5 separate regions of the Homo sapiens genome follow, and all the other regions are linked to region 4. Evidence: promoter capture Hi-C in 16 types of primary human blood cells and fetal thymus (Javierre and others, 2016). All regions are on one chromosome and are shown on one strand. Each heading gives the region's core, a stretch centred on a gene start or on the middle of the fragment in contact. The rest is flanking DNA. Distances are from core to core; before and after follow the strand shown. Region 1 holds the start of MTIF2 (mitochondrial translational initiation factor 2). Region 2 overlaps ACYP2 (acylphosphatase 2). Region 3 holds the start of PSME4 (proteasome activator subunit 4). Region 4 holds the start of EML6 (EMAP like 6). Region 5 has its middle 21 kb from the start of PSME4.

Evidence for each region. The method cuts DNA at HindIII sites, captures the fragments that hold promoters and counts their contacts. A CHiCAGO score of 5 or more calls a contact.
Region 1: a contact is called between a fragment that was not itself captured here and the fragment with the promoter of EML6 in region 4, in 1 of 17 cell types (fetal thymus). The highest score is 5.4, in fetal thymus.
Region 2: a fragment that was not itself captured here is called in contact with the fragment with the promoter of EML6 in region 4 in 1 of 17 cell types (endothelial precursors); the score reaches 5.3 in endothelial precursors.
Region 3: a fragment that was not itself captured here is called in contact with the fragment with the promoter of EML6 in region 4 in 1 of 17 cell types (fetal thymus); the score reaches 5.6 in fetal thymus.
Region 5: a fragment that was not itself captured here is called in contact with the fragment with the promoter of EML6 in region 4 in 1 of 17 cell types (naive CD8 T cells); the score reaches 5.8 in naive CD8 T cells.

Annotation. Positions count from the first base shown.
Region 1 is chr2:55,265,914-55,270,875 of GRCh38, reverse strand. It overlaps MTIF2 (mitochondrial translational initiation factor 2), which reads left to right and starts at 1,645. Exons shown (of 16, transcript NM_002453.3): 1 at 1,645-1,707; 2 at 2,137-2,298; 3 at 3,241-3,307. RefSeq lists enhancers at 784-1,607, 1,553-1,702. The HindIII fragment of the contact is 855 bases long and covers 2,246-3,100 here.
Region 2 is chr2:54,160,927-54,165,643 of GRCh38, reverse strand. The region is part of intron 3 of ACYP2 (acylphosphatase 2); the gene reads right to left. Among named protein-coding and RNA genes, the nearest start is that of ACYP2, 48 kb to the right of the region's middle. The HindIII fragment of the contact is 3,078 bases long and covers 1,429-4,506 here.
Region 3 is chr2:53,969,766-53,974,163 of GRCh38, reverse strand. PSME4 (proteasome activator subunit 4) reads left to right here and starts at 3,171. Exons shown (of 47, transcript NM_014614.3): 1 at 3,171-3,621. The coding sequence starts at 3,380. It also overlaps a transcript of ACYP2 not described here. RefSeq lists enhancers at 2,653-2,702, 2,998-3,292, 3,559-4,323 and silencers at 2,903-3,292, 3,167-3,328, 3,303-3,502. The HindIII fragment of the contact is 6,659 bases long and covers 1-4,398 here.
Region 4 is chr2:54,721,260-54,725,756 of GRCh38, reverse strand. It overlaps EML6 (EMAP like 6), which reads right to left and starts at 2,095. Exons shown (of 42, transcript NM_001039753.4): 1 at 1,980-2,095; 2 at 499-1,208. The coding sequence starts at 695. RefSeq lists silencers at 892-1,041, 1,713-2,202 and an enhancer at 2,343-2,562. The HindIII fragment of the contact is 5,681 bases long and covers 1-2,632 here.
Region 5 is chr2:53,989,898-53,994,860 of GRCh38, reverse strand. It overlaps a transcript of ACYP2 not described here. Among named protein-coding and RNA genes, the nearest start is that of PSME4, 21 kb to the right of the region's middle. The HindIII fragment of the contact is 187 bases long and covers 3,559-3,745 here.

The DNA of each region.
Region 1 (4,962 bases), core at 1,424-3,923, 540 kb before region 4:
TAAAACAATATTTATATTTGAGAGGTGGTGATGGTTGTGGTCAAAACGACCAGCTGAAAGTCATAATGTCCAAGCAAGATGAGGGAAAGCTCTGGGGGCAGGCAGTAATAACCATAACAGCAAACACATACTATGAACCAGGCACTACTTATCAACAGTTTATCAACCCATTAAAAGCTTATTGCAGCCGGGCGTGGTGGCTCATGCCTGTAATCCCAGCACTTTGGGAGGCTTAGGTGGGCAGTCACCTGAGGTCAGGAGTTCGAGACCAGCTTGGCCAACATGGTGAATTAGTGAGGCATGGTGATGTGCCCCTGTAATCTCAGCTACGCGGGAGGCTGAGGCGGGAGAATCACTTGAACCCAGGAAGCGGAGTTTGGTTGCAATGAGCCGAGATCGCGCCATTGTGCTCCAGCTTGGGCGACAGAGTGACACTGTCTCAAAAAAAACAAAAAACAGTCTGGGAGAGGTGGCTAACGCCTGTCATCCCAGCACTTTGGGAGGCCGATGTGGGCGGATCATCTGAAATAGGGAATTCGAGACCAGCCTGACCAACATGGAAAAACCCTGTCTCTACAAGAAACACAAAATTAGCCAGGAGTGGTGGCACATGCCTGTAATCCCAGCTACTCGGGAGGCTGAGGCAGGAGAATCGCTTGAACCCGGGAGGCAGAGGTTGCGGTGAGCTGAGATCGTGCCATTGCACTCCGGCCTGGGCAACAAGAGCGAAACTCCATCTCAAAAACAAATAGAAACAAAAACACAACAAAAACCTTATTACAATCCTGTGAACTAGCTACTGTCATTACTATAATGTAGATGAACAAACTGGGACATGGACAGTTGACAAAACATTCCCAACCACACACTAGGAATGAGCTGGGATAGGAAACCAGGCACTCTGGCTCTATTACTCCTAATGCCATACACACGAGCTGACTTAGGAGAAAACAGAAAGTACTGTTCGCACAATACTAACTGGTTCTACCGCCACTGTTCGCTTGCATTTGTTTTTTCCTTCTTGTTAGGAACACGTATCTTTGAAGGAGGTATCATTTCTCCCACAATTCTCCATTTAACGTTTCCTACAGTGTTAAGCACCACCGAGGCCTCTCATAGCCCCAGAGAAGAAGTAATTTGCTTCCTAGAAATCCTCACTGTATCCAGATTCCCTCCCAGAGGAGCCATCAGTTCTCATGGGTGGCACTTTTTCTCCAGCTGATTACACTTTTTTTCTGTACCAGTTAATTTTTCCAACTTCTAATTGAATAAAGGCAGTTTTCTTAAAAAAAAAAAAAAGAGAAAGAAAAACGGAAAGGAAGGAAGAGGAAAGGAAGGAAGAAATGAAGAAAGGAAGGAAGGAAAGAAAGGAGAGGGACAGAAAGAAAAAAAGGAAAGAGAGAAAGAAAGGAAAGGAAAGTAAGAAATGGAAGGGACCTGCAGAAACGATTCACCACGCGCGGCTGACCCTGGGAGGAGCCACAGGTTGAACCAGCGCCTCCCAGGCTGGACGCCCGCCGCGGACACCGCAGACAGTCCCACCCCCAGCGGCGACAGCAACTCTCTGAATTCCGGAAAGAACCTTTTCCAGCGGGACCGGAAGCCCGGCGGGGACCGTAGCGGGGACGGACTGACCTACCGACCATTCTTCCGGGTCCAGAAGGTGATCTCCGCCCGTGCTCAGAATCCAGGGGCCCGGGGCTGTAGGTAGGAGTTAAGTGGGTAGGATCCCTTAACCAGGGTTGTCCGGTGCAGGTGGTGTGTGTTGTTTCGCCTAACGTGTCAGTGGCACAAATCACGCGAACTTCATAAACATTGTGCGTTCGGAAGCCTTTCCAAGATGCATTTAATCCCTGCGTGAGCCCACGTTAGGCATTCACGAAGGCATGTGCACTGTTCTCTCGGAAGCGGCTGGCCGGCTTCCCCTCCTCGCGCGCGGCTGTGGGTGCAGGTCCTCACTTCCCAGCCTCCCATGGGCCCAAGGCCTTCTGGGCTCCAATTTGAGGCGAGCCACCCCAGATCCGTAATTTTTCTGCAGTGATTTATTTTTACCTTTCTGGTAAGTTCCAAAGCTTCCAGCTCACATTCAGACGTTTTCCCTAACGCAACTACGTATTTGCAACATACTTTTTTCAGATTCCTTGACAAGGATATCCTAGCGGCGAAACAACACCGTACTGGGAGTCAGAACGTCTGGGTTCTAGTCTTGACTGCCATTAACTAGCGGTATGACATTGGAGAAGCTTTTTTGACCCTTCTGGATTTCCGTTTCCTTTTCTGTAAAATGAGGAGCTTGGAGTAAGTGACAAGTTTCCTTCCAGTTTTGACATTTGGGTTATTGCCTCCAATGTGTCTTTCCAGTTCCTGCCTCAATTACATATCTGTGCTTTGGTTAATATCTCGTAGGGTCCTTCCTCCCACTCCATTAATCTGTGCTCTTCTCAAATCTGGTTTCATACTGATTTAAAAATTATTTTCTCAAGGAATCCTGTGTTACCTGAGCACTCTACTTCTTGGTCCAGGGGCACAAACGTAAATAAGATATTTTCCATGTGCCATTCTTAGAAGTATTTAATGTGTGTAAATACTATTGAATGAATTTCCAAATCTTCTTTTTTTTTTCTTTAGACAGAGTCTCACTGTCGCCCAGGCTGGAGTGCAGTGGCCTGATCTCGGCTCACTGCAGTCTCTGCCTCCTGGGTTCAAGCGATTCTCCTGCCTCAGCCTCCCAAGTCGCTGGGATTACAGGCGCCCGCCACCGTACCCGGCTAATTTTTGTACTTTTAGTAGAGAGGGGGTTTCACCATGTTGGCCAGGCTGGTCTCGAACTCCTGACCTCAGGTGATCCGCCCGCCTCGACCTCCCAAAGTGCTAGGATTACAGGCATGAGCCATCACGCCCAGCCTGAATTTCTAAATCTTAATGTGTTTATTTCGTTGGCATTAAGTTAGATTTTTCCTTGATCTTTACTCGAATAAGCCTTTTAAGGTAAAATGCTTGCTCGATTACACACACATACACAACCTCATAATTGTCCGAAGGTAAACAAGTTAATGACTTGTGAATATTTTTAACTTATAAGCAATGAATCCTCAAAGCTTATAAGCGAGTATCAAGACATGTGATATGGTTTTAAAATAGCTGATGATAAAGTATATACATCATCTCATTTTCTCCTCTTAGTCTTGTAATAGGAAGGACAGATATTCAAACACTTATTTATTTATTTATTTTTAACAGAGATCCGGAAAATGAGGCCCATAGGAAACAAGTGACTTGCTGAGTCCAGATAACACTGACTGTCAGAGTGAGTGTCCACCTAAGGTTCCTTTGTTGCCTAATAAGATACTTTCTTTGCTATACTGTACTTGTTTCTGTTATCATTTCTTTTCTTTCTTTTAAAAAATATTCAGTATAGGCCAGGCGCGGTGGCTCACGCCTGTAATCCCAGCACTTTGGGAGGCCAAGGCGGATAGATCACCTGAGGTCAGGAGTTCAAGACCAGCCTGGCCAACACGGTGAAACCCCGTCTCTACTAAAAATACAAAATAATTAGCCGGGTGTGCTGGCAGGCACCTGTAATCCCAGCGACTTGGGAGGCTGAGGCAGGAGAATCCCCTGAACCCAGCAGGTGGAGGTTGTAGTGAGCCAAGATCACGCCATTGCACTCCAGCCTGAGCGATGAGCAAAACTCCATCTCAAAAAAAAAAATTCAGTATATTCTATTTACCATGTCAGAACCATACATTTACTATGTCAGAACCATAAAATACACTTTGGGAAGATTGGTTGAAATGTAACATTTAGGCTAGGCGTGGTGGCTCACGCCTGTAATCCCAGCACTTTGGGAGGCTGAGACAGGTGGATCACCTGAGGTCAGGAGTTTGAGACTAGCCTGGCCAACATGGTAAAACCCGGTGTCTACTAAAAATACAAAAATTAGCCTGACACGGTGGCACACACCTGTAGTTCAAGCTACTTGGGAGGCTAAGGCTGGAGAAAATTGCTTGAACCCAGGAGGCAGAGGTTGCAGTGGGCTGAGATCACACCACTGAACTCCACCCTGGGCAACAGAGCGAGACTCCATCTGAAAAAAAAAAAAAAAAAAAAAAGAATGAAATGTAGCATTTAATGCCTAGTTATCTAGCAAAGATCACCCGTCCAGAGCCTTAATTTCTTTGGTCACATCAAATAACTATTATCATTTGTGAACAATTTTAAAGACTATCTAGTAGAAAATATAAATATATTTATATAATATATATGTTGTATATAAATATAAAATATAAGCATATTGTAGAAATGCCATATTATGAGATAAATCATTAAAAAAAAATTTTTTTTTTTTTTGAGACAGAGTCTCGCTCTGTCTCCCCGGCTGGAGTGCAGTGGCGTGATCTTGGCTCACTGCAACCTCTGTCTCCCGGGTTCAAGAAATTCTCCTGCCTCAGCCTCCCAAGTAGCTGGGACTACAGGCATGTGCCACCACGCCCAGGTAATTTTTTTGTATTTTTAATAGAGACGGGGTTTCACCATGTCGGTCAGGCTGGCGTCGAACTCCTGACCTCAAATGATCTGCCTGCCTTGGCCTCCCACAGTGCTGAGATTACAGGCATGAGCCACTGCGCCTGGCCAAAAATTTTAAGGCTTTGTAAAAGTTTATAATTTTGTTCAAGATAGCTTTATATGGTTAAGGTAAACGCATTGAAATAGTTCATAATTTCCATTCTTTTTTTTTTGTAATGCTGAAGAATATATGTGTCTCTCAGTATCTATGGGGCATTGGTTCCAGGACCCCCGCTGCCGCATGCCAAAATTTACAGATGTCCAAGTTCCTTATATAAAATGGCGTATATTTACATGTAACCTAAGCACATACCATTGTATACTTCATGTCATCTCTAGATTACTTATGATACCTAATACAAAGCAAATACTATGTAAACAGTATACTTTAGGGAA
Region 2 (4,717 bases), core at 1,718-4,217, 560 kb after region 4:
CATCATATAGTATTGCCTTCAAGTGTACTTTCCTTTGCCTCAAGTCTTAGAAGACTTTGGTTGTCTCTAATGTGTGTGTGTGTGTGTGTGTGTGTGTGTGTGTGTGTGAGAGAGAGAGAGAGAGAGAGTGAAAGAGAGAGAGACAGAGAGAGACAGACACACACACAGAGAAAGAGAGAGACAGACAGACAGACAGACCAGATGACCTCTCAGGTCCCTTCTAGATCTAAAATTTTAAGACAATTGTTCTGAAAGTACTAACTAACAATGAATGGCCAGCTTTGGAATTTGTGACTAGCAGTATTCAAAACATATTCATGATTGCAGGAAATAAGGCAGAGGACCCTAAAAGGAGATACAAAACCAAAAAGGTAAATGTGAGTGAAATAATATATCAACTTCAAATCGTTAGCAAGGTAATGCCACTGAAATCAACTAGTCTATACAGTGTCTCCAAGATGGTTAGTTAGAAAATAAGGCTGTTTCACTACTTGCAATAGCAAAGACATGGAACCAACCCAAATGCCCATCAATAAGAGACTGGATAAAAAAAAATATAGCACATATACACCATTGAATACTATACAGCCATAAAAAGGAATGAGTTCATGTCCTTTGCAGGGACATGGATGAAGCTGGAAGCCATCATTCTCAGCAAACTAACACAGGAACAGAAAACTAAACATCCCAAGTTCTCACTCATAAGCGGGAGCTGAACAATGAGAACACATGACACAGGGAGGGGAACATCACACACCCAGGCCTGTCACGGGGGTGAGGGGCAAGAGGAGGGAGAGCATTAGGACAAATACCTAATGGCTGTGGGGCTTAAAAACTAGATGATAAGTTGATAGGTGCAGCAAACCACCATGGCACATGTATACCTATCTAAGAAACCTGCACGTTCTGCACATGTATCCCAGAACTAAAAACAAAAACATAACAAAACAAAAAAACGCTGTTTGCCACAAGAGGCACCTCAAAAGGACAAATGTGGTCCCAAACACCCCTGGTTTCCATTCATATGAATTAATTTTTCTTAACTTCTCATTAATCTGTTTATATTTTCAGTTTATATTGTCCCTTTGCCAGTTCTCTTCCTTACTGTATTTCCTGCAGTCTTCTCTCTTCCCTATGTACCCAGTGCCGGTGCCTACCAACAAGTGTTTCAGCCTCCAGTCTGTCATTTGAATTCATCCTGAATATTCCATTAATGACTCCTCCTAAATCATCATTATGATTGGGTCACCCTGCCCCCAGCTGAAAGCATTCTTCAATGATTCCTTGGTGCACAAGGGACTAAGTCAAAACTCAAAAGCCTGGCAGTTAAATCCTCACCTATCTGGCTCCTAGACAAGAAGTTAAGATTCATGTCATCTGAACTTCTCCCCAGTTCCTGTGTGCATCCATGATTCACTCCTAGAAGCTTCACCCTGACCCATGCCATCTCTCTTCCATGGAGCATTCCCCCACCTTCCCTCTCCTCTGAATGTCTAAGTTCTATACATGCTCCAAAGCCCTAATCAGATCCCTCTTTCAGCCTTACCAGCCATTAGCTATCCTTTGGTCTTCCGAAATTCTACCACGCTTCTTTACCATTTGACAGAATACTCCCTATTTTGGTAATTAACTTTCACAGGCATAAGTTTTATTGCCTCAGCTAGACTGTTATCTCCTCAAGGTCAAGGACTTTATCCTTTTTAAAAAAATTTCCTAAAGTGCCTAGCACAATGCTCCCCACGGCAGATGCTCAGTAAATAATAAGTGAATGATAACTTTTTTTTTTTGAGACAGAGTTTTGCTCTTGGTGGCCAGGCTGGAGTGCAATGGTGCAATCTCGGCCCACTGCGACCTCTGTCTCCTGGGTTCAAGCGATTCTCCTGCCTCAGCCTCCCTAGTAGCTGACATTACAGGCATCCACCAACACACCTGGCTAATTTTTTGTATTTTTAGTAGTGGCGGGGTTTCACCACATTGGCCAGGCTGGTCTCAAACTCCTGCCCTTGGGTGAGCCACCCCCCTAGGCCTCCCAAAGTGCTGGGATTACGGGCGTGAGCCACCGCCCCCAGCCGATAACAAACATTTATGAACCACTTCTTTTTGTCTGAAATTATTTTGTCTGAAAACTTCTTCAAACTTCAGGACTTTCTCTCTGACTTCATAATGCTATGAATGAGTCTCAGTTTTTTAAATAATGTAATTTTCAAGGGTGTCCACTGCTGATTATAACAGAGGGTCTCAGAGACAGATCCTGGCAAACAATACCCTCTTGTAGCATTTAATATGATTGAGTCACTTACAATTAGACAAGAAAGCATTACATTCTATAAATTGTCTCTTCCCACTGTGATTGAAAAGGAAAAACTGACTTTAGGTATACTAAATCAAAAGCATATACACATAAATCACAGATAACTCACATGCAGGCATGGTTATGGCCTTACTATGTGCTATTTGGCCTCACCACTCAAAATGTGATCCGGGGACAAGCAAAATCCATACTGTTTGGGAGTTTGTTAGAGGCAGAATATCAGGCTCCACCTCAAACTTACTGAATGAAAATTATTCCTTTTAACAAAAGCCCTGGGTGATTTGAAAAGCACTGGACAAATCCAAAACGAGCAAAAGTGACTGTACAGAGTAATTTTTCTTTTTCTTTTCTGAGACAGGGTCTCACTCTGGCTCCAGACTGGGGTGCGGTGATCACGATTCACCGCAGCCTTGACTTCTCAGGCTCAAGCAATCCTCCCACCTTAGTCTCCTAAGCAGCTGGGACCACAGGTGTGCATCACAACGCCCGGCTAACTTTCTGATTTTTTGTTGTTGTTGTTTTTGTTGTTGTTGAGATGGGCATCTCCCTATGTTGCCCAGGCTGGTCTCCAACTCCTGGGCTCAAACAATCTTCCCCCTCTGGCCTCCAAAAGTGCTGGGATTATGGGGGTGAGCCACCATGCCTGGCCTGTACAGGAGGAAATTTTTTTATGTAGGTTCCGGTGAGTACAGGATTTTTATCCTTTCAAAACAGCCTTTCAAAACAGATTGTTGGGCCCCATCCCCAGGGTTTCTGATTCAGTACGTCTAGGGTGGGAGCCGAGAATCTGCATTTCTAACAAACTTCCAGGTGATATCCATGGTGCTGCTGCTGGCCTAGGAACCACACCACAGGCTTATACCATTAAAAACAACAGGCCTCATATTTTGGGAATTTTGCTCCAAGTGCACTTCCAATAGAAGAGAGAATACTGAGCTAGTAAAACGGAAAAGAAAAAGAAGCAGCAGCAAAATGTTTCATTTATGTTACAAGAAGGTAGCTGTTAACACTCCTTTGTACACAGTGGGGTAAAAATAGCTGAAGGAATTACTATAGCAACAGCTATAATATCCTCAGAGACTTTCTCTCCTGGCATTATTCATAAAGGGAGGTCCATCTTACACAAATTCTATTACAACTTTGAGACCTATTACAAACAATAAACATGGGAAACTTATCCCATTCGTTAAATACTGTGAGATAAAATACAACTTTAAGATGCATTTGAGAAATGACTCTCTGAGGCCTGAATTTGGATTTGGTCCAGCAATTGAACAATAACAAAAAAAAGTAAGAATCTATATGGTTGTGAAACAACAAGAAAAGGAGAGCTGAGAAATGTTGAGAATACTTATTATAAAATTTTTAATGTTTTTAAAAAAATCCCAAAATAGCTGCTTCTTTTAAAACAAAGACTTACCAAATTATAAATAAAAGAATATATAAAAACCAAAGAGCTCCATCTAGAGTTTGAAAAAAGGGTTATTACTTATACACACAAATAACAAAGCACTCTCTACCCTATTGTATCTATATTCTTTTCATTATTGTTAAAAATACGTATTCTTACAAAATATTTACAAAAAGGATAACTTTTTAAAGTGTGTAATACTGTTCATGTAAAAGAGAACTGACTTTTTCATAATGTCTGTAACCTATTTTTCTTCTAAAAATTTGGCAGTTGTATTTGTCACCGTGAATGATTATCTTCAGGCAAATCATTAAAAAGTTAGGATAGAACATGTATACCTACTATGTAGCCACAAAAGTTTTTAATATAATTTAAAAATTAAAAAGTTGGGATAGTGTTTAAGGCATTCATGGAGATGACAGCTTATGAAATTGATTCAAGGACCCAGTTCTTACCTGAGCTTGCTATACGCCCTTGAGTAACTCCTCTTTGAATCCTGAGTTTTCCCATCAATAGGGGTTAGATAAGACCAATGGTACTCAGACCTGGCTGCTCATTGGAAACACTTGAGATCATTGGAAATAATTTGATGCACGGGTCCCAGCCCCCAAGATCATGATTTAGTTGTTCTGCTGTGTGGAGTAGGAGGTGTGGGCAATTTAGTTGCCATGTAAAAGCTCCCCAGGTGATTCTGATATGCAGATTGGCTGTATCAGATTGGGTGATCTCCAAGCTGTCTTTCACCCTTAAGCATCCATTGCTCTAGTTTAGTGGCTCTGAAGCTTTCATGTGGATCACAGTCACCTGGAGGGCTTATGAACTCACACTGCTGGAACTTACCCTGGGCTCCGGATTCAGTAGGCTCAATGTGGACCCCAAGAATTTACGTTTCTAACAAGGTGCCAGGTAATGCTGATGCTACTGATCCAAGGTCCTACTTTGAGATCATTGTTCTAGGTTATTTTAAAATTATATTTTCCAATCTTCCAAATTAT
Region 3 (4,398 bases), core at 1,665-4,164, 750 kb after region 4:
GGCGGGCGGATCACGAGGTCAGGAGTTCGAGACCAGCCTGGCCAATATGGTGAAAGCCTGTCTCTACTAAAAATACCGAAAAAAAAAAAATTATCTGGATGTGGTGGTGCGCACCTGTGGTCCCAGCTACTCGAGGCGCTGAGGCAGAAGAATCACTTGAACCCCGGAGGCGGAGATTGCAGTGAGCCGAGATGGATCCATTGCACTCCAGACTGGGCTACAGAGTGAGACTCAAAAAAAAAAAAAAAAAAAAAAATATATACACACACACACACACACACACACACACACACACACACACACACACATATATATATCCCACATTCAAAAATCCCTCCTTTTATTCCAAGTACCTCCTCATTGTCTCGCGCGTCCGTGGGAAGAGACCACCAAACAGGCTTTGTGTGAGCAACATGGCTGTTTATTTCACCTGGGTGCAGGCAGGCTGAGTCTGAAAAAGGAGTCAGCAAAGGGTGTTGGGATTACCATTAGTTCTTATAGGTTTTGGAATAGGTGGTGGAGTTAAGTGCAATGTTTTGGGGGCAGGGGGTGGATCTCACAAAGTACATTCTCAAGGGTGGGGAGAAATACAAAGAACCTTCTTAAGGGTTGGGGAGATTATAAAGAAACTTCCTAAGGGTGGGGGAGATTACAAAGTACATTCATCTGTTAGGGTGGGGCAGAAACAAATCACAATGGTGAAATGTTATCAGTTAAGGCTATTTTCACTTTTTTTGTGGATCTTCAGTTGCTTCAGGCCATCTGGATGTATACATGCAGGTCACTGGGGATATGATGGCTTAGCTTGGGCTCAGAGGCCTGACACTCATCTCTTTCCGGCTCTCCCTACCCCATTATTTTTTAAAAGGTTGTCCATATTTGCTGCCTCTATTTATTCACTTCCCATTTGTCCTTTGTCACCATAATCAGATTTCTATTCTACACTCCAACGACACTGTTCTTATGCGCTTTATCAATAAACTATCCAATAAACCCTTTCAGGTTTCACTTCATTTGACCTGTTAGCTACCTAAGGTAGGATTGTTCGCTTCTCCATGAGACACCCAGTTTCCTAGAACTCCTCCTCTCTCTGCTTTTTGTGAATATTCTTTGTGGCCTACCTTCCTTTTCTCTGTCTGTCCTTAAATGTGGGGCTCCTCAGAGATTTGTGAAGGGCCCTATTTTTTCATACTGTATATTTCCTTCCCTCCTGTCGTCCATCTACACGCTAATCTGCATCTCAGTTTAGATCACCCTCCTGATACATATGTCAACATACCCATCCCATAGGCATTCTGCCTCCCAAGCTGTTTCTGCTGTGTTCTTTATCTCAGTGAAGGACTTCACCTATCTACCCAGCGTCGTCTTGTCTCTTTCCTTTTTAATTTTTCACTTTCAGTCAACTACTAAGCCCAAGCCATTCTGCTGAAGTAGCTCTCAATTTCAACTGACATCCAGGCCATGATTATGTCACACCTTAAAGGGTCCTCCAGTTCCCAATCTTGTCAGTTCCAACCCATTTTCCAGACGAAGCCAGAGTGACTCTTTTTTTTTTTTGAGACGGAGTCTCGCTCTGCCACCCAGGCTGGAGTGCTGTGGCACGATCTCGGCTCACTGCAAGCTCCATCTCCCGGATTCACGCCATTCTCCTGCCTCAGCCTCCCGAGTAGCTGGGACTACAGGCGCCCGCCACCATGCCCGGCTAATTTTTTTGTATTTTTAGTAGAGACGGGGTTTCACCATGTTAGCCAGGATGGTCTCCATCTCCTGACCCCGTGATCCACCCGCCTCGGCCTCCCAAAGTGCTGGGATTACAGGCGTGAGCCACCACGCGCCTGGCCCTTTTATTTTTTGAGACGGAGTTTCGCTCTTGTTGCCCAGGCTGGAGTGCCCTGGCGCGATCTTGGCTCACTGCAACCTCCGCCTTCCGGTTTCAAGCGATTCTCCTGCCTCAGCCTCCCGAGTAGCTGGGATTACAGGCGTCCGCCACCACGCCCGGCTAACTTTTTTGTATTTTTAGTAGAGACGGGGTTTCACCATGTTGGCCAGACTGGTCTCGAACTCCTGACCTCGTGATCCGCCCGCCTCGGCCTCCCAAAGTGCTGGGATTACAGGCGTGAGCCACTGCGCCCGGCCGCCAGAGTAATTCTTAAAAAATGTAAATTATATCATCCCACTGCTATGCTTAAAATCTTTTGGAAGTTTGTCTCTAGGATAAAGCTCTGAATTCCTTAGGATTGCCTTCTCAGTCTCATTTCTCCGTCCCCTCTCTTACGCTATTTTGAACTTTGAATTTTTAGAATACATGCTTGCAGCGTCAAAGCTGTTCTCTCAGCTGAAATACGTGTCCTCCTCCCTCCTTTTTCTAACCAACTTTGCACTCAACCTTCATAGCTTAAATTAAGTATCACTTCTAGGAAAATGACACCCTCTCAAACCCCCTAGTTTCAACTTCTTTGTAGAGTTCCTAAGGATTCTTGTACTTATCTAGCAATTAAGAGCATTATCTTGTAATTCACGTCTTTATCTCTGCTAGACTAAGTCCTTGGGAGGGCGGAAACCAGGTTAAACTTTCTATCTCAATAGCCTAAACTGAGCGCCTTACACACAAAACAGCTGTTCAAATAGCATTTGTTCAGCGAGTAACTATTTTCTTCTTTGGAATGATGGCGGCCAGAATACCAGAAAGATGGGGACTTAAAGGGGACAGAAAAATTAAATCTATAAGGAACAAGCGGGATGGAGTAAATAAATCTATAAGGAGCAAGTGGGTACGTAGGCTTTTCCATAAACCCCTCTAACCCAGAAGCCGGGGCTGCTCGGCTAGGGGGACCAGGCCGACCTGGCTGCCGCCTGTCGTGGCGACTGGGACTCCAGTGGGCTGCCGCTTGGAGTGCGCGACCCCCGGCGAAGCAGGACAATAGCTTGGAATTCGGCCTCGTGTTTCCGGTGAGGCAGCCTCGCGCTGGGCCGGTGAGGCCTGGGGTGGGGGCTCCGAGCCGGGCCCACGGCGAAGAAGGCGCAGCCCGTTGGGCTCCAGCTGCCGCCACCACCGCCTCCCCCGACGCCGTCGCTCCGCCCCGCCCCGCCCCGGAAGTGACTTGAGGCCGGTCCGGAACCTCTGGGCCCGGCGGCTGCAGCGTCACCAGCAGAGCCGGTGCGGGGCGGGCAGAGCGGCCGCTGCCGCCGCCAACGAACTGAGAGCCGCGTGGGGCCCAGCAGCACGCCGGCCAGGGAAGGGGGCCTAGCGATCGGTCCGAGGGCGACGGGCCGCCAGCGGCCGCAGGGCGACGAAGACGCGGAGGAGGCGGAGCCCGGAGAGGGGTGGGGGCCGGGGAGGGTTCGGGTGGGAGGGGGTGGGGGGGGTGTCCCTGGGCTCATGGAGCCGGCCGAGCGGGCGGGAGTCGGAGAGCCCCCGGAGCCGGGCGGGCGTCCCGAGCCGGGCCCGCGGGGCTTCGTCCCGCAGAAGGAGATCGTCTACAACAAGCTGCTGCCCTACGCGGAGCGGCTAGACGCCGAGTCCGACTTGCAGCTGGCCCAGATCAAATGCAACCTGGGCCGGGCCGTGCAGCTCCAAGAGCTGTGGCCCGGGGGCCTCTTCTGGACCAGGAAACTCTCCACGTAAGTGTGCCCGGGCCTGCGGGCCGGGCCGGGGGGAAAGGCTCAGTGAGAGGTGTCGGGGATGGTTGCTCTTTGTCCAGAGGGCTGGACCCTTAGCTCTGTCCTCGCTGGAGCTGTCCCCGAGCGGTGATCCCAGGGTCGTGACAGAGCCTGTGAAGTACTCAAGCCGTCCTCCCTGCCACTTTCCTACGGGACTTCCCGGGTCTTTACCATCCCTCTACGTCCTCCGCATCTGCTTCTCCCGAAGTGTTCGGGTTGTTGTCTTCCCACCTGGGGGGCCCTGGGTAGCCCAAGGGCCCCGGCCCCGAGGGAGAGAGGTGAGCCTTTCTCAAGGGTCCTCCGTGGACTTTTGCGCATGGGAGAGGCGGGGCAAAGAGAATTTGTCTTTGGGGGAGTTCCTTGACTTGTCTCCTTGCTTCCTCCGGTTCTTCCTTCCCCTACGATCCCCGCCTCTTCGCATCTCCGTTGGCGTCTAGTAACTTTCTGAATGGAGAGAAGACCATAGGGAAACTTAAGGGTTTTGCTTTTTGGGGGCCCTCTCAGACCTGGCGGAGTTGATCGAAAAGGGTCGTTTAAAGTCAGACCTCATTCTTGAGCTTAACGTCTTATGTGGACAGTGTTGTTTTGGATTGTGTGTTGCTCCTGTTGTGACATTTCTTTTGGAGAGACATTTAAGATACTGAGGAAAGTAGGGAAGAGCACTGTCAGGATGTCCAGGGCGATATTAGTATCAGGCTTGTGTTAATTTTTTGAGTTACTCAGATTAAGAGATTACCT
Region 4 (4,497 bases), core at 846-3,345:
GAAATTTCCCAGGTCCAAAGCATCTGAGATGAAGATTCCAAATTACCAGTAGTAAAATTTCTTTTAGATCTTTTTTAATCCTCTTGCTTACTGAGAAACCCACTGAGGAGCCTCCCAAAGATGATGCCCACACTTCAGGTTATTGGTCCTACCGTGCACCTGGTTAGGGAAGGAAGAAGTGTTTCATAGTTACCCAGGCTCCTTCCACTTGTAGCAGGAAAGAACAGCAAGAAAGCATCAGAACACTCAACTCCTTGGAGATTTAAAAGCCAGAATTCCGGAGGGATACAGCGAAAAGACATCTCTCCCTCCTCACCTACACTCCCCACACTGTTTCTGCCCTGGCCCTAGAATCAGCAGCCCTTCAGTAATTCCATGCGGCTCCAGAGAGAATCCTCTATTCCACGGGGCTCCCGGATCCGACCCCAGGTCAACCGCTTCCCACCTTCCCAGCCTCCACACGCAACCCCTCCCCGCCGCCCCTGGCCACCCCCTTACCTGATAATGTCGTCGTTGTGTCCCAGGAAGAATTTTTGGCTGTGCTCGCGGGTGTTGTAAACCACCCCGACCCCAGCCACAAAGTAGACCACCTCCTTGCCTGCCGTGTAGTACAGGTTGTTGCGGCACTGGTGACCCCGGTACCCGTACACCCACTCCAGCCGGAGCTGGCAGCGGGGCGCCGTCCGATCCGCCATGATAAGCCGACCCCGCGCGCCCCCCGCCCCCCCGCGCGCCGGGGCCGTCCTCGCCGAGGCTGGGGCTGCGGCGGACCTGCAGGGGCTCAGCGCGCGGCGCAGGGCGCTGATTTCCGCGGCGACACACAGGCACAGCCCAGCGGGCCGGCCGCCACCATCATCCGCTGCAGCCGCCGCAGACAAGCCGCCGCCGCCGGTGTGCGGCCGCCAGACCCCGCCGGGCGCCGGGCTCCCTCTACCCGGGCAAGGCGGCTCTGGGGGCGCCGGCACCGGCGCGCGCGCCTCACTGCACCTGCGGGCTCCGGCCCCCGGGAGAGGCTCTCGGGGGGGCCACCCCGCCTTTTACATCAGGAATCTGCATATCCCAACAGCGATCACCCAGTTCGCTCACTGAAGTTTGCGGTGCGCCGGGGCTTCGCGGCAGGCGGCGGGATTTATTCTGCGATAGCCTTGATTTGACAGGCAACCCGGGTGAGCTCTGCCATCGCCGTCTTTGGATCCGAAATTGACAGTCTATATCCAGGAAGCGAGAGCGAGGAAGAAAGAAACAGATTTTTCGCATAAGTCACCCAATCCAAGAAAATTATCCCCAAACTAAACCAAGTTGGGTATTTTTAAAAATTGTCCCCTACTCCCGCTTTCTCTCTCCAGTTCCATCTCCTTAATGATATGAAATATGCGTAAATGCTGCTGCCTGGCAGTTGCTGATGCGATTTGAAGGAACGCTTGCTGTTTCCCTAATAAGCGAGGGCGAATATGCAATGGTCATTTTTTAGATGCTCCAATTAGTTTTCATGTGTGTGTTTAATAATCATATCCTCCGTGAACCTTCTCTTCACCGAGAAAGCCATAAAGAACTTAGCAGCTCTCATTGATCAGCAACTCCAATCCGCATCATGAAAGATTGTCTTACTCGGAAGAAACGAGGCACTAGTGCAGTCGGAGGGAGTGCGCTACCTACAAACGCTCCTGGTCGAGGAGAAATCAAATAACAAGTGGCAAAAATCGTGTACTTCTCCCCAGAAACCTCTGCGCTAAACACCGGGTCCCACGGAATCCCGGGTCCTGCCCTGAGCCCAGCGTGGAGAGGGGTCGCCCGAGGGACCCGGGGGACAGCAACCCCCCACAGACGCACACGTCCCGGGGGTCGGCGCGCTGCGCGAGGGATGCCCGCCCTCAGGACTGTTCGGCCCGCGCGCACTGCCGCCCTGGCGGCGCCCTGCACTCCTCCCACTCTCGAACCAGCCTCGCCCGCGGAGCATCCGCGCGCTCTCTGCCTCTAACCTCTGCTGCCAGCGGACGCCACCGGCGCGTCCCGGATCCCGCGCGGGCGAGCGAGCGAAATCCTCTGCCTGCCCTCCCCTCCCCGCCTCCCGCACCCGGGGATGGACTTCGTCACTGGGGCGCCGCGGGAGACAGGTTCTTCCTCCAGCCGGGGCTCCGGGGGCGGGGCCACAACGCCGCGCTAGTGAACCTCAGCTGCCGGTTACTAGGCGAGATCTCGCCGCTTGGAAACAGCGACGCCCCGGAGGACTGGGGCCGCCCCCTCCCTCTGCCTGTCCCTGTGGCCTCTTCCCCCGACGCATCCTGGGAAGTGTAGTCCTCTCTGCGCCGGTTAGGGCGGACAGCGCGCGGAAGGGACCACAAGTCCCAGGATTCCGCGCGCCCAGAGGGAGTCGCAGCGAGACCTGTACCGGCGTCAGCGGAGCCTGCGGCTCTCGGGGTGAGGAGATCCCGGCTCACCAAGGACGATTGCCTGCCCACGCGGGCGTTCCCTTGTGACTGAGGCGGGAGCTGGCGTGCGTGGGTCTCTGTAGAGAAAAGCGGTGGAGTTGGAATGGAGACGGTCTCCCAGCCCACCACTGGAATTTCTCCTTCATCGGTCTCTGAGTGTTGCTGTAACCGACATCCTCACCATGCTGTAACTGACTCAAGCTTAAGTTTGTTTCCTACTTAAGTTTTCCTTTTCATTCACATGGATTTTAATTTGTTAAAGTGCAGTTCTGCCAAGTTTAAGAAAAATGCTGGGAATGTGAGCTCACTTCTGCCCTAAGAACCAGCGTCTTCCCATGACCTGCGTCCTAAATTAGAGGACTTGGGTATTTACAGATAACCGGAGGTTGGAAGCAGGAAGGTGCTCACGCCATGAACAGCTAACCTTGGCCTTCAAACGCAGAAGCTGGTGGCATTTCTCCTAAAACTGCCCGAGATGAACTATGAATCCACTGTGTTCTCAAGTAGCCTATTTCCAATTTAGGGCCATAGCTAGTCTTTGGAAAGAGATTTCAAAATCCCAGTGACTAAGAGGCTGCAAAAGGATGATGGATTGGACGTTTGGAACGTCCTTTCCCTCCCATGCTTTCAGTGTAATCGCTTACTCAGTTCATCTCCCTCAAGTTTTAAGACAACCCTCCGACCTGGTAGGAAAGCTCGAAAGAACTGGAAGTGCCAGAGTTTGGATGATTTGTTGCTGCCCGCAGTAATGAGGATTTGAATTGGTCTCATCTTTGTTTTTAAGGAAACAGAATCAACAAATAAGTGAGATGGCACTGTGCTAGGCAACAAGAACACTGCCAAAAACAAAAACACGGCCTGAGAAAGGTTTGAGATAGAAGCAAAAATATAGTTGATCAATGATGTCGTGCCATAAAACAGTGCCAAATGAATTATATAAAGACAGTAAGTTTTTGTTGTTCTTTTTGTTTTGTTTTGTTTTGAGACAAAACAGGCCGTTGCCCAGGCTAGAATATCGTGATCTTGGCTCACTGCAACCTCCGCCTCCTGGGTTCAAACGATTATCCTGCCTCAGCCTCCTGTGTAGCTGGGATTACAGATACGCACCACCACGCCCAGCTAATTTTTGTATTTTTAGTAGAGACAGGGTTTCGCCCTGTTGGCCAGGCTGGTCTCCAACTCCCGACCTCAGGTGTTCTGCCCGCCTCGGCTTCCCAAATTGCTGGGATTACAGGCATGAGCCACTGTGCCTGGCCAGTAAGTTCTATATAAGAATTCAGAAGAGGAAGAGTTTTTCCAGATAAAATACATCAGGAAAAGTTTCATGGAGGAACTAGGAAATATAGATAGAATTGAGATAAGTAAAGATAAATTGAAAGAGCGTTCTACATGCGTTTAGGGAATAAACAAAAGTGTAGATGCAGAAAAGTGGATTTAGAGAACACTAAAGAGAATACCCAGTTTGGTGCAAGGGAGAATTCATATAAGATCAAGAGGACACATGAAAGGTTAGATTGTAGATGGAGCTCAGCATAGGGGTTTGCGCTGTATCCTTAAAATAATGGAGTCATTGATTTTTTGAATAAAAATAAGGGAATAGCAATGAAAGCAGTAATCAAAGCATGAGGTATTAGAAGTCTGGGGTAGTGCTTGAGGCTGCGTTAGAGATAGTGGCAGTGGTCTAGAAAGGAAGAGACACTTTCCAGAGAAAATGTACAAATGTATTGAAAAGAAGTCTCTTAAATAGAAATGGATGGAACATATTCATTTCCTAAATTATCTTTAGTATAACTAATGACCCCCATGCTGTACCAGACTGTTAAATGAGTTGGAGGAGTAAGTCTGAGTCAGCCACTTACAATTGTAACCTTAGGCAAATCACTAAATCCTCTGATCTTTACTCTCCTCATTTAATAAAGTATAGCAGTACTCACCCCACAGGATAATTGTAAGAATGAAACAAAGTAATACATACGTGAAAAGTTAATTTGTAAAGCATTAGATAAATGTTAATTATTACTATATGGCAGTAGATAGTAACCTCTACTTGAAAGTGTCAAATAAGACT
Region 5 (4,963 bases), core at 2,403-4,902, 730 kb after region 4:
GGGAAGTTATAATGTAATGCCAGAGGTATATTTTATGTGTGTGTATTAGGCTGTGGAAGATTGGTTGACTGGCTTTTGGTCACTGAGTTTCAGATATTCAGTTCTAGAATAATTTGGGAATAAAATTGCTATCCTATAGTAGTTTTGAGCTATTAAGAACTATTTGGTTGAAGGTCTGATATCTTATTCCATTTTTAACTGCTACTCAACACAAGATTTTCCTTTTGAAGTAGGTCTTGGTAGAGGTTGAAGCATTTCCACGATATAATTTCGAATTATTGCCTCTCATAGTCCACCCCAGCATGACCTCTTTCCTGCCAGTTTCCTCTTTTTTTTTTTTTTTTTTCTGAGTCTTACTCTGTCACCCAGGCTGGAGGGCAGTGGTGCAATCTTGGTTCTCTGCAACCTCCACCTCCTGGGTTCAAGTGATTCTCCTGCCTCAGCCTCCCGAGTAGCTGGGACTACAGGCACGTGCCACCATGCCTGGCTAATATTTTGTTTTTTTTCGTTTTTTTTTTTTTTTTTTTTTTTGAGACGGAGTCTTGCTCTGTTACCCAGGCTAGAGTGCAGGGGCGCGATCTCTGCTCACTGCAAGCTCCGCCTCCTGGGTTCAGGCCATTCTCCTGCCTCAGCCTTCCGAGTAGCTGGGGCTACAGGCGCCTGCCACCACGCCCAGCTAATTTTTTGTATTTTTAGTAGAGAAGGGTTTTCACCGTGTTAGCCAGGATGGTCTCGATCTCCTGACCTCGGGATCCGCCCGCCTTGGACTCCCAAAGTGCTGGGATTACAGGCGTGAGCCACTACGCCCAGCCGCCTGGCTAATATTTTGTACGATTTTTAGTAGAGACGGGGTTTCACTGTGTTAGCCAGGATGGTCTCAACTTCTTGACCTGGTGATCCACCCTCCTCGGCCTCCCAAAGCGCTGGGATTACAGGCGTGAACCACCGTGCCTGGCCCAGTTTCCTATATTATACATCCTCTTTCCCAAATTATTTTCTTCCTTACTTTACAAATTCTCAACTTTCTACTTTTTTTCTCTGAACTTCCACGTCTTTTCCACAACCCTCTACTCCCAACTGAGGGTGTTGCCTACTTCTCCGGGAAAATAGAGACTACCAGAAATAGCTTATCTTTTGATTCCCAAATCTTTTTTTTTTTCATCCTTTTTTTTCCCTCACTCTGTCGCTCAGGCTGGAGTGCAGTGGCATGATCTTGGCTTACTGCATCCTCTGCCTCCCAGGTTCAAGCGATTCTTGTGCCTCAGCCTCCCGAGGAGCTGAGACTACAGATGCCCACCACCACACCCAGCTAATTTTGTATTTTTAGTAGAGATGGGGTTTCGCCACGTTGGCTAGGTTGGTCTGGAACTCCTGACCTCAGGTGATCTGCCCACCAGAGCGCTGGGATTACAGGCTTGAACCACCACGCCCGGCCTGATTCCCAAATCTATGATTCAATCTGCACCTGTACTTTTTTTTTCTTCCTTCCAGTTTCAACAGTGGGAGTGTCCCTCCTTCCTTCATTTCACTCCTGCCCTTTGGATCTAATCCTTCCTTCTCCACACCATCATCTCTCTCTTTCTAATAACTTCTGATTTCTGATCCCAAAGATGGGCTAGCATCTCTCATCTGAGAAAGCGAAACAAAGCAAAAACCTTTTCTTGTCAACCTCTGTCGCCCATGCTGAAGTGCAGTGGTGCCATCTCGGCTCACCGCAACCTCTGCCTCCTGGGTTCAAGCGATTCTCGTGCCTCAGCCTGCCAAGTATCTGGGACTATAAGCATGTGCCACCACACCTGGCTAATTTTTGTATTTTGGGTAGAAACAGGGTTTCACCATGTTGGTCAGGCTGGTCTCGAACTCCTGGATTCAAGTGATCCGTCTGCCTTGACCTCCCAAAGTGCTGGGATTACAGGTGTGAGTGAGCCACCATGGCTGGCCATAAAACCTTTTTTCTGATGCGTATTCTCTTTAAGTTACTTCTCCTTCTTTTGCTTCCCGTCACTGGAAAACTTTTTTTTTTTTTTTTTGAGATGGAGTTTCACTATGTCGCCTAGGCTGGAGTACAGTGGTGTGGTCTCAGCTCGCTGCAACCTCAGCCTCCTGGTTTGAAGTGATTATCCTGCCACAGCCTCCCAAGTAGCTCGGACTACAGGTGCACACCACCATGCCCAGCTAATTTTTGTATTTTTAGTAGAGACGGGGTTTCACCATGTTGGCCAGGCTGTTCTCAAACTCCTGACCTCAGGTGATCTGCCCACCTTAGCCTCCCAAAGTGCTGGGATTACAGGCGTGAGCCACCGCACCCGACCTCCAAAATATTTCTCATCTCTGAGTACTTCTCACCGTTGGCACTACTTCTACCGTGATACAAGCCATTGTCATCTCTCATTGAATTGCTGAAAACGCCTCCTAATTAGTCACAGTACTTTCATTCTTATCCCCTTATAATCTATAGTCCATTCAGAGTCAGGAGAGATCTTTTGAAAGTTTAAATCAATTTATATCATTTTCCTGATTAAAAACTTGTCTATAGGTTTCCATTGCACTTAGAGTAAATTTAAGTGCTTGGTTCACTCACTAGGTTAAAATTAAAAGTAAGTGCTTACTATGACACTGGTGAAAAGAAGGAAGGAAGGAAGGAGAAAGAAGAAAGGAAGGAAGGAAGGAGAAAGAAGGAAGGAAGAAAAAAAGTAGGAAGGAAGGAAAGAAAGAAAGGAAGGAAGAAAGAAGGAAGAAAGGGAGAGAGGGAGGGAGGGAAGGAGGAAGGAAGGAAGGAAGGAAGGGGAAAAAAGGAAGGAAAGAGGGAGGGAAGGAGGGAGGAAGGAAGGAGGGAAAGAGGGGCAAGAGCTCTTACATTGTGAAAAAGCTTGGCTTGATCAAGAAATTGAAAGAAGCTGGGTGTGGTGTCATGTGCCTGTAGTCTTAGCTACTTGGGAGGCTTGGCAGGAGGATTGCTTTAGGCCAAGAGCTCGAGTCTGCAGTACCCTATGAGCGCACTTGTGAATAGCCACTACACTCCATCTTGTACAACATACTTAGCCCTCATCGCTAAATAAAAATAAATAAATATAAAAAACTTAAAAAAAATTGAGAGAAGGTCGGAGTGCCTGGAGCAGGGTGAATGAGGTAAAATCAATATATGAGATGAAATACGGCCAGGCACAGTGGCTCACACCTGTAACCCCAACACTTTGGGAGACTGAGGCAGGTGGATCACCTGAGGTCGGGAGTTCGACACCAACCTGACCAACATGGAGAAACCCTGTCTCTACTAAAAATACAAAATTATCCAGGTGTGGTGGCGCATGCCTGTAATCCCAGCTACTCAGGAGGCTGAAGCAGGAGAATCACTTGAACCTAGGAGGCAGAGGTTGCAGTGAGCCAAGATCGCACCACTGCACTCCAACCTGGGCGAAAGAGTGAAATTCCATCTCAAAAAAAAAAAAAGAAAAAAAAGTTACACATACACCAGCCATTCTATGCCTAGGTATGTATCCAAGAGAAAAGTAGTTATATGTCCATACAATGACTTATACATGAATATTTATTGAAGCTTTATTTGTAATACCCAGAAACTGGGAACAACCAAAACGTCCATTAACAGATGAATGGATAAGCAAACTATGGTATGTTCATAGAATGCTACTCAGCAACATTTGAGAGAAAATTATAAAATCACAACATCTGATGATGACCAGCAGCATACCTTTGAACACTTGACCAGCAGCATCACCTGGAAGCTTGTTAGAAACACAAATTCTCGACAGGGCACGGTGGCTCACGCCTGTAATCCCAGCACTTTGGGAGTCCCAGGCGGGCGGATCACAAGGTCAGGAGATCTAGACTATCCTGGCTAACACAGTGAAACCCCGTCTCTACTGAAAATATAAAAAATTAGCCGGGCGTGGTGGCGGGCACCTGTAATCACAGCTACTCGGGAGGCTGAGGCAGGAGAATGGCGTGAACCCAGGAAGCGGAGCTGGCAGTGAGCCGAGATCGCGCCACCGCACTCCAGCCTGGGCGACAGAGCGAGACTCTGCCTTAAAAAACAAAAAACAAAACAAAAAAAAAACGCAAATTCTTAGGTCATCTGCAGACCTACTGAATCAGAAACTCTGACAGTAGAAGCTCTCTCAACCACTGCTTTATGCTAATTTGCTGAAAGTGAGGATTCTTTTTCTTTTTTTTTCTTTTTTTTTTTTTTTGGTAAGACGGAGTTTTGCTCTTGTCTCCCAGGCTGGAGTGCAATGGTGCCATCTCGGCTCGCTGCAAACTGCACCTCCCGGGTTCAACAGATTCTCCTGCCTCAGCCTCCCAAGTAGCTGGGATTACAGGTGGCCGCCACCACGCCCAGCTAATTTTTGTATATTTAGTATATTTGGGGTTTCACCATGTTGGCCAGGCTGGTCTCAAATTCCTGACCTCAGGTGATCCACCTGCCTCAGCCTCCCAAGGTGGTGGGATTACAGGCATGAGCCACAGCTCCCAGCTAGGATTCTTGATATATCAACTATCTTGCTTGTTAGAAGTGAACTCTGGCTAAATTAAATAGAAGATGAATTTACTGAAAAGTGTTATATGCCAGGAGTGGTGGCTCATGCCTGTAATCACAACACTTTGAGAGGCCGAGGCGGGTAAGTCACTTGAGGTCAGGAGTTCAAAACCAGCCTGACCAACATGGTGAAACCTTGCCTCTACTAAAAATACAAAAATTAGCCAGGTGTAGTGGTGCATGCCTGTAGACCCAGCTACTCCGGAGGCTGAGGCAGGAGAATTGCTTGAACCCAGGAGGTAGAGGTTGCAGTGAGCCGAGATCACACCATTGCACTCAGCCTGGGCAACAGAGCAAGACTCCATCTCAAAAAAAAAAAAAAAAGAAAAGAAAAGAAAAGGGTTTATGTAACTCACAGAAGTGATGAGAAATGATGAAAACATTCTCAAACAATTGGCTGGGACCAAG